2 separate regions of the Homo sapiens genome follow, and region 2 is linked to region 1. Evidence: promoter capture Hi-C in human tissues and cell types (Jung and others, 2019). All regions are on one chromosome and are shown on one strand. Each heading gives the region's core, a stretch centred on a gene start or on the middle of the fragment in contact. The rest is flanking DNA. Distances are from core to core; before and after follow the strand shown.

Region 1 (4,013 bases), core at 959-3,458:
GGCTTCGGGCGGCCGAGTTCATTCAGAAGAAAGCCCAACTCAGAGCTGCCAAGGGCCGAGAGAAGCTTACTGCAGGGCTCTACTGCCCTGCTTGACTTCAAGGGTCCGAGCTCTGACAAACCTCTTTCCCTCTGACTAGTGTCTTTTACCAGCTTCAAGAGGAGGTGTGGATCCCCCGATCCCTGCTGCTTTATTCCTGGGATCTGTGCCAGAACCATCTATAGGAAGACCTGATCCAACCTCTCCCCCATTTTACAGACAAAGAAACTGAGGCTCAGGGAGGAGAGCCAGTGGTAGGGGCCAAGCTCACAGGGGAAGCAGAGCCAGGACTAGAAACCAAGTCTCGCTGCAGTCAATGCAAGCCCTCTGCCCTTATACCCTTGTCTTGTCTGCTGAATTATGCTCTCTCTGCCTGGGACAGGGGCCTTCCTCAGAGCGCAGGGTGACCAGGATGTGCTGCTTAATGGAGAACAGGGAGACCTCAGCCCCCATGCCTCCTTGACTCCGGCTCCTGTCCCTTGGCCTGGTTCCTCACCATCAATCTAGTGGCCTGGGACAGTTTAGGTGGAAGTCCAAGATGCTCAAGTCCTCTAAGGACTTGACTCTTGCCTGGCCAAGTTTATCTTGGTCCTGGGAGGTAGAGGTCAGCAGGTAAAGAGTCTCAAGTGCTTGATCACAGGGTGTGTGTGTGTGTGTGGCGTGTGAACAGGCATGCACACGCAACTGGTGGTTCACTGAAGAGGGGGCTCCCACTAGACTCCCCAAACAATCCACATTTCATCTGGGCAGGCCCTTCTGAACCCAAATATTTTCTCCCATTCTAAGTCCGTGCCCCTCCCCCATCAAGGCCTTAGGGCTGAGCCTGAGAGAGGGAGGGAGGGAAGAAGAGAGAGAAGCCACGTTTCCTTAGGGAGGGAGGGGAAGAGTGAGAAAGAGGAGAAAGACAAGCTCACAGTCGGACCTAGTCAAGAAGACATAGGGAGAGGGAGAAAGTCAGCCAGACTCCAGGAACAGAGGGACAGAGCAGAGATCTAGAGGCAGATGGAGAGAAATGGCTCCCTCCTCCTGAGCCATCACCCTATGTTGCCCTGACCGCCTCTTCCCAGCCCCCAGCCTCAGGTCCCTCCCTGGGGTGGGGGGTCTCTGGGCCTGATTCCCTGGGGCTGCCAGGGTAGCACCCTGAAATTTCTGGGCCTGGCTTCCCCGAGGGGTCGGGTCTCAGGCCCTCTGAACGTTCCCCGGTGCGCCCCCCAGCGGAGATCCAGCCTATGAGCCACCGAAGCCCCAAGGGAGGCGCAGGAAAGGGCGCTGCCACTTTGCGCCCAGTCTGGTCCTGGAACCTGGGGTGGGTTGGGGACGGCTAGAAGACGTGGGTGGAGGGCGGGATTGGTGTCTCTTGAGCTCAGATCCGAGGATCGGACGGACCCGATACCTCGATGGCCCCTTCCCCCTAGAAGGTGGAGGCCAGTGTATTCAAAGATTGAGCCCCCAGGAGGGGCGCTTAGCTCCAAACACATGTCGCTCCTGGAGACCCTGCGCTGAACCCTCTCCCCGGCTCCTGCCCAGTGATGTGTAGTCGGGTCCTTCTAGGGGCCCAGGCGCGCCGCGAGGACGGGTGCCGAGGGGTGGAACGGGAACGGAGACCCTTCATCTTACCGCATTGTTGAGGAAGTCCGACTCGTTCAGATCCCCCAAGTCCAGGAAGCTGGATCCGGGGAACAGCCTGTCGGCCGGGAAGGGTTCCAAGACGGCGTCCATCGCAGCCGGCTCCCGGGACCCCCTTCCACTGGGCTTCCCTCACTCCAGGGCGGCGGCGCGCCCAGTCCAGAGCTCCTGCCTGAGCGCTGGCAAACGGGCGGGGGGCAGGTCCGGGGCGAAGCCCCGGGGGAGGGGCGGACGGAGGCGGCGCGGCCCCGGGTGGGGGGCGCGGGGCGCGCGGGGGCCTTAGGGCAGCGGCTAGGAGCGGGATGGGCTCAGGGGCCCCGGGCGCACCGTGGGCATTCAGCCGACTCCACCTCCTCCTGCTCCTCCTGGGGCACAGCTGGCTTCCATGGGGAGCCCGGGGTTGGGGCTGAGGGCTTCAGGAGCCCCCCGGACAGGGTGGGAGCCGGGGCGGGGGAGCTAAGTGCTCCCCCGAGACTGGGTGGCTGCCGGCCTCTCCTCTGTCTCTGCGTCTCCCTCCGCACGTCTTCTGTCACTTTCCTCTCTGTGAAACCGGGAACCCCTGGCTGGCTAGCCCAGCTGGCCAAGGCGCCACGCCCCCACATCAATATTCACAATAATTTAATATTAATGAGAAGAGGGCGTGGCTCGAGGAATCCTCTCTCCTTTTTTAAAGAGACATCTGCAACTTCGTCTTAGTAATCTCTCTTCTCTGAATGCTCAAGGTGGGGGCTTAAAGCAACAATAGTCCTGGAACCGATAACAGTGTTCCTGGAACATTGGCATTTTAAGGCTTCACCAACCACTGTCCCGTAAATTGATGAGGGAGCTATTTCCATCCTTCCAGCCTTATACTAAAGCCTGCACGAAACCCAGTCAGGGAATTCCATTTCACAGTCCCCTCAACAGATCTCCCCTCAACGGGGGAGATTTTCAGCTTTTTAAAAATTTTATTTATTATTATTACTATTTTTTTGACACGGAGTTTCGCTCTTTTTGCCCGGGCTGGGGTGCAATGGTGTGTTCTCGGCTCACTGCAACCTCCGCCTCCCAGTTTCAAACGATTCTCCTGCCTCAGCCTCCTGAGCACCTGGAATTACAGGCGCGCCCCACCACGCCCAGCTAATTTTTGTATTTTTAGTAGGGACGGGGTTTCACCATGTTGGCCAGGCTCCTCTGGAACTCCTAACCTCAGGTGATCCGGCCTCCTTGGCCTCCCAAAGTGCTGGGATTACAGGTGTGAGCCACCATGCCCAGCCGATTTTCAGCTTGTAACTCTCATTTCTCATCTCACCTGTTTCTTCTTCCAGGAAGCCTTCCCTGAACCCCCAGGCTGGAGCAGTTACCAACGGTATACACCCACAGGGCATCATGTGCTCACCTCCACTGTTTCCAGTCTAATGTGGTATTGTCCTTATTTGCTCACATTGTTTGTATCTGTGACCCCACTGAGCTGTGAGGCTCCTCAGGGCAAGGACAGTCCCCAGCTTCCCTCTGTGTGAAAGGGCTGGGTGAACAGCCAGAGATAGGAGAGTCCCCCTCTTCTCCTCGATAGTCAAGTCCCTCCCTACCCCCCAATGGTTCTGAAGAGCAGGAAGTTGGAAAACAGTGGTTCTGGAATCTGAATGAGCCAAGGTGCTGGCTGGCTGCACACTCCACAGTCACCAGACACTCCCAGGGCCCCGGGATCCATTACCTAAGTGGCTTGCTCCTGCGTACAAACTTAATCTCTTGAAAGGGCTGATAGCAATCGCCAAGCACCTGAACAAATGGAGGTGGTTCAGAAAGGCACTCCCTCAGAGGGCTGGGCACACTGTTTCCTGACCAGAAGTTATTAATAAGATTAAGCATGTCCTTTCTGTCTGGGACGTTTAATTAGCTCAGGAACCAAAGGCCTTTAAGAGGTAGAGATGTCATTGCAGCTAAGCCATGGATGTCACCAAAATTGCTCTCAGCACCAGGTGGGAGAAGGGTTCATACCAAGGCTGAGACAGCAGTTGTTTGCTTCCCTGGCAGGCAGGCAGTCACGTGGCTTTTCCCCACCTTATGATCTAGTTGACATAGTTCTGGAGAGTGAAGTTCTGACCTTCCAGGCTGTCACATGACTGTTAGCTCCCAGGCCTCCTGTAGAATTTGCTCCTGAGAAAGTAGGATTATAACCCATGCTCTGGGGACCAGTTCACCAGCCATGCAACTCCGAGAAGTAAGGCTGGGCCAAAAAGAAATCAATTCACTTTCACAACAGTGGCGGGTAGAATTAGGGTGCTGGGACCATGGGTGTCTTCCCCAAATGCGTCACATCTGGCCAAATGGGGACCATTCAAACACTGGGATGTGGCTGATACTTCTCA
Region 2 (4,093 bases), core at 1,539-4,038, 410 kb after region 1:
CTGCCTGAATCCAATTCACTTTTCAGGCCCCCTAGCGCAAACTTCTGTGATATGTTCCCTGATTGTTCCAGACCACACCAGCAGCCTTCTGCTAAGCTTGTATAGTCTGTATCATTTGTCCAGGAATTCTAGGTTATTGTTCCTTTTTATCTAAGCAGACTGTTCAATCCTTATGGATGGACAGCACATCACATTTTATATGTTTAATGCTCCCCCTTCTTCACCCACCTGCTGGCAACAATTTCATGTTGAATTGGACACCATTAGCTTACTGAGCAACCTTGACCCAGACATTTAACCTCTCTGTTCTTTGGTCTTCTCATCCGAAAATCAGAGTGTCAGCCTGGCAAGTTCCAAATTTGTAATACAGGATGAACTTTGCTTAGTATCACAGAGCTAAGAGATAACTGAGAGAGTAGTAGGTTGCTGGTACTCCCAGGAACAAGATAGCACACATCTGTCCATCAGCAATGTCTATGTCAAAGAGCCCAGGAAAGGTGAAGGGTGCAGGCATCAAATGCCCATCTCAGTGAGCACACAAATCCAGACACTCAAACCAGATGGCTGCGGCCTGGCCCTGAAGTAAGAGGGATCTGATAAAAAGAACCTATCAGCTCCATGGAGAAAAATCACCCTCCAATCTAATGACGAAGACATGGTGCATAAGGAACAGCTTGAGATGATGACTCAGAGGGGACAGGAATTTACATTTCCCCAAGAGTGGCATAAAAGGCCCTTCCTCCCTTGGGAAAGGAGAAGCCAGTGTTTTGATGACATTCAGGAGGCTTCCAAGATGAGCGCTGCCAGGGAGGTGCAGAGCTGAGGCCACAGGATGGGTGAGAAGGGAGGAGAGGCCGCAAAAGGCAAAGATGATGACAGACTGGGTCTACTGGTCCTCAGGCAGGGCTGGGCCAAGTAAGACACAGCACAGCCCTCTGTCCAGGCTTCTCAAGGTCAGTGCTGCCCTCCACTGGCTGGCCTATAGAACACAGCCTGTCGGAAAGCAGGGGGCCTGGAGCAGCCTCAGACCCTGCAATGCGCCTTTTCCCCGCTGCTTCACACGCAGGTCTCAGCTTTCTTTCTCTTGAGTGTGACTCATTTTAATAGGTAGAAAGCGCCACCCCTCAGCCCCCATGCCTCCCTTTTTCCCTTAGCTGGCAAAAAAATACAAAAGGGCTTGACTTTTAAATCTCTGATAAAAGTCAGAATGGTGGGATTTTTGAGCTGAAATCCTAAAAGTCATGCAGTCCCACCAGATTATTATTATTATTATTATTATGTTTTTAGAGATGGAGTCTCACTATGTTGGTTTGGCCAGGTTGGTCTTGTACTCCTGGCCTCAAGCGATCCTCCCACCTTGGCCTCCCAAAGTGCTGGGATTACATACATGAGCCACCATAGCCGGCCCAATGGTAAAGGTCACACAGATATCAACCAGAAAGTACTCATTCCCTAAGCCAGGATGGAACCCGGCTGCCACTGTAAAATGGTAAAGCTTTAGTGGCTGAGCATTGGGTGGTCCCACCAGATTTTCATCTAGTTTGCTATGTTTCAACCTGCAGCTGGCAGGGCAGTAGGCCCCCCCACTCCCAACTTCCTTCCTGAGGTTGAATCTAGGCTGCTGTCACTCACTCTCAGGCATCCTTGCTCGGCAGCTCTGGGGTTGGCAACTCTGCCACCCGGGCCCGTTTGCTGAGTTCTTCACCAGGTGGTTCCTCGGCTGCTTCCAGCTTGCGTTTGGGGGATGCTGGGCCACTGGGTAGTGGTCTTGGGCCTGTAGGGAAGCGTGTCAAAGGGTCACACAGACTGTGCATGCAGCCAAAATGATCCCACACTATGCAGCAGCAGCTCTTTAGGGGACAGGGAGCACACTTATCAATGGAATGCCAGCATGCTGCTCCTCAGACCTGCCCCTCGGCCTTGCTTTCAGCAGTGACTTTGCCTGGAAATGTCCAAGGAGGACATGACCAAGCAGGCCTGCTGGTAGCAGGACCAGCTTTTGGGCCCCAAATGGCATGGGCTGTGGCCAGAGACTGATTTGGCCTGCCTGCTGTCCTGCTTTGAAGGTGAGGCATTCCCTCTGCAACCCTGAATCAGCCTCCCCAAGCAGCAAAGAGCAGGGCCCCTGTGGAGGAGTCATGCTGCCCATGGAGGCAGCCTAGCTGGGCCAACTAGAAAAACCCGTGTTCTTCCCATCTCATGTTACTCATCTTCATCCCCAAGAAGGGAAGAGGCTCCGAATGCAGCGAATCTGTCCAGTCTTTCTCCTTGCGGCCACCACCCTGTCTGTGCTGCCTCCTCTCTGGCCTCCCTGTGCCCGCTCCGGCCTACACTGTCCAATCTCCACCCAGCAGGCCAGGGAGCTTTTTCAGACCTAAGTCCAATCATGCCCTGCCCTACTGACCATCCTTCAGTGCACTGAAGGCTGAATCCTAGTCCTCGTCTCGGACATCAGGCCTGCCACATGCTGCTCATGCTGTATCTTGTCCTCATCTCATTCCAGCTCCTCACTGGGACATGCCGCTACACTGACCTCCCTTCGGTTCCTTGAATGGACTAAGCTCGGTACTGTTTGTGAGCTTTTTCTTGCTACTCCCTTTGTCTGGAATGTTATTTTCTCAGTGTGTGGCAGGGCTGGCTCCTGCTCATGACGTGGGTCTCTGCTTAACAGAGGTGTTCCCTGACTGCTCCAATCTCAAGTGACACAGAAGAAATCCTTCTTTCCCAGTCCCTCTGTCAAGATACTCAACTTTCTTTTCCTCCAAAGCACTTGTTATCTGAAATGATCCAACTTGGTTTCTTTACTATCTGACTGCCCCAGGTGGAATATAAGCTCCACTGGGCAAGGCCTCCTTCTGGCCTCAGTCCTGAATGACTGAAGTGGTGGCACAGGCCACAGGAGGCCACAGGAGGTTGGTTGCTGCTGCTCACCTGCACTGCTCATGCTGCCAGCCTGGCTCGAGCTGGGCTCTGCCACAGGGTGACTGAGGTCTTCCACACAGGAAGGGACAGATGCCAGTAGACCTGGGAGAGAGGCGAGGAGTAATCAGAGTGCCGTCTCGCAGGATTGCAGAGGGCTACAGGGCAGGATGAAGCAAGTGGGGGTGGGGAGGGTAGGAGCAAGACACTGAGGTTCCATTTCCTCCCACAGCCCCACAACTACTCAGGAAGGCCCAGTTCATCCCAGCCTGCAGTGTCCCATACCCAGCGAAGGTGTCAACCTGAAAGACAGCACTCAGTCTCCCTTTGCAAGTATCTGGACATCCCCATCTGGCCCCCTGAGCCTGTAGGTGCTGTCCTTCCCTTCAGTGAGCTAGGTGTTTGTCTCCTTACAGAGTCCCCGGTAGCGCGAAAGCTGCTGGTAAATCTGCTTCATTCGTTCAATGTTAAGCCGGCTGGTCTCGGCATGGTTGACGATGGGCCGTGGGTAGTCCACACCAATGATGCACTTGGCTGCCTTCTGAATTGACTCTGGGGCATTCCAGGGCTCATAGATGTATCGAGAGGGGAACGCTTTCAATTTGGGCAGGTATCGCCTGAAATAAGATACACCAGATGACCCATCAGCATACCCAGACCCTCCTTCAAAAGGCCCAGGGTATCCCATCCTAGTAGGAGGCCACAGTGGTCAGAGGCCAGAGAGCCTGGTCTGTATCCTCACCTGATGTAGTCCCCACTGGGGTCCGTGCGACGGCCAAAGCCCACAGGGCAGTAGCAGTGGAAGAACTGCTGGAAGAAAGCACTGCAGGACAGCCACATCCAGCTGCCTGCGTTCACGCTGAAATCTGCATCCAGGAGCAGCTCATCAAATACCTAGATAGGGGAGGGGATGATCAGCCTCCTTGGGGACATGCAGCCATGTTTTTTCCCAAGTCACCACAGTGCCCCCAGGAGCCAAAACCCTTCCATTGAAGGCAAGCCACAGAGGATCTGGAGGGGATCTCCTGGACCCAGAAATCCCACCTCATCCCTCAGCCCAGAAGGGGGCTGCCCTTTGACGGGCCTGACCAGAGGGTACAGGCCAGCTTTTCGTTGAGAGAGCACTCACCCGGACCCCGCTCTCCCAGCTGACCCAGAGGTCCCCGCGGGTCAG

The links. The method cuts DNA at HindIII sites, captures the fragments that hold promoters and counts their contacts. A contact is called where the count stands out against the background at its distance.
Region 2: a contact is called between a fragment that was not itself captured here and the fragment with the promoter of CREB3L1 in region 1, in 1 of the 25 tissues and cell types used here (spleen).

Annotation. Positions count from the first base shown.
Region 1 is chr11:46,275,857-46,279,869 of GRCh38, reverse strand. CREB3L1 (cAMP responsive element binding protein 3 like 1) reads right to left here and starts at 2,208. Exons shown (of 12, transcript NM_052854.4): 1 at 1,657-2,208. The coding sequence starts at 1,758. The HindIII fragment of the contact is 8,009 bases long and covers 1-4,013 here.
Region 2 is chr11:45,869,773-45,873,865 of GRCh38, reverse strand. CRY2 (cryptochrome circadian regulator 2) reads right to left here. Exons shown (of 12, transcript NM_021117.5): 7 at 4,049-4,093; 8 at 3,662-3,813; 9 at 3,334-3,536; 10 at 2,932-3,024; 11 at 1,633-1,774. The coding sequence ends at 1,635. Among named protein-coding and RNA genes, the nearest start is that of MAPK8IP1, 14 kb to the left of the region's middle. The HindIII fragment of the contact is 3,983 bases long and covers 797-4,093 here.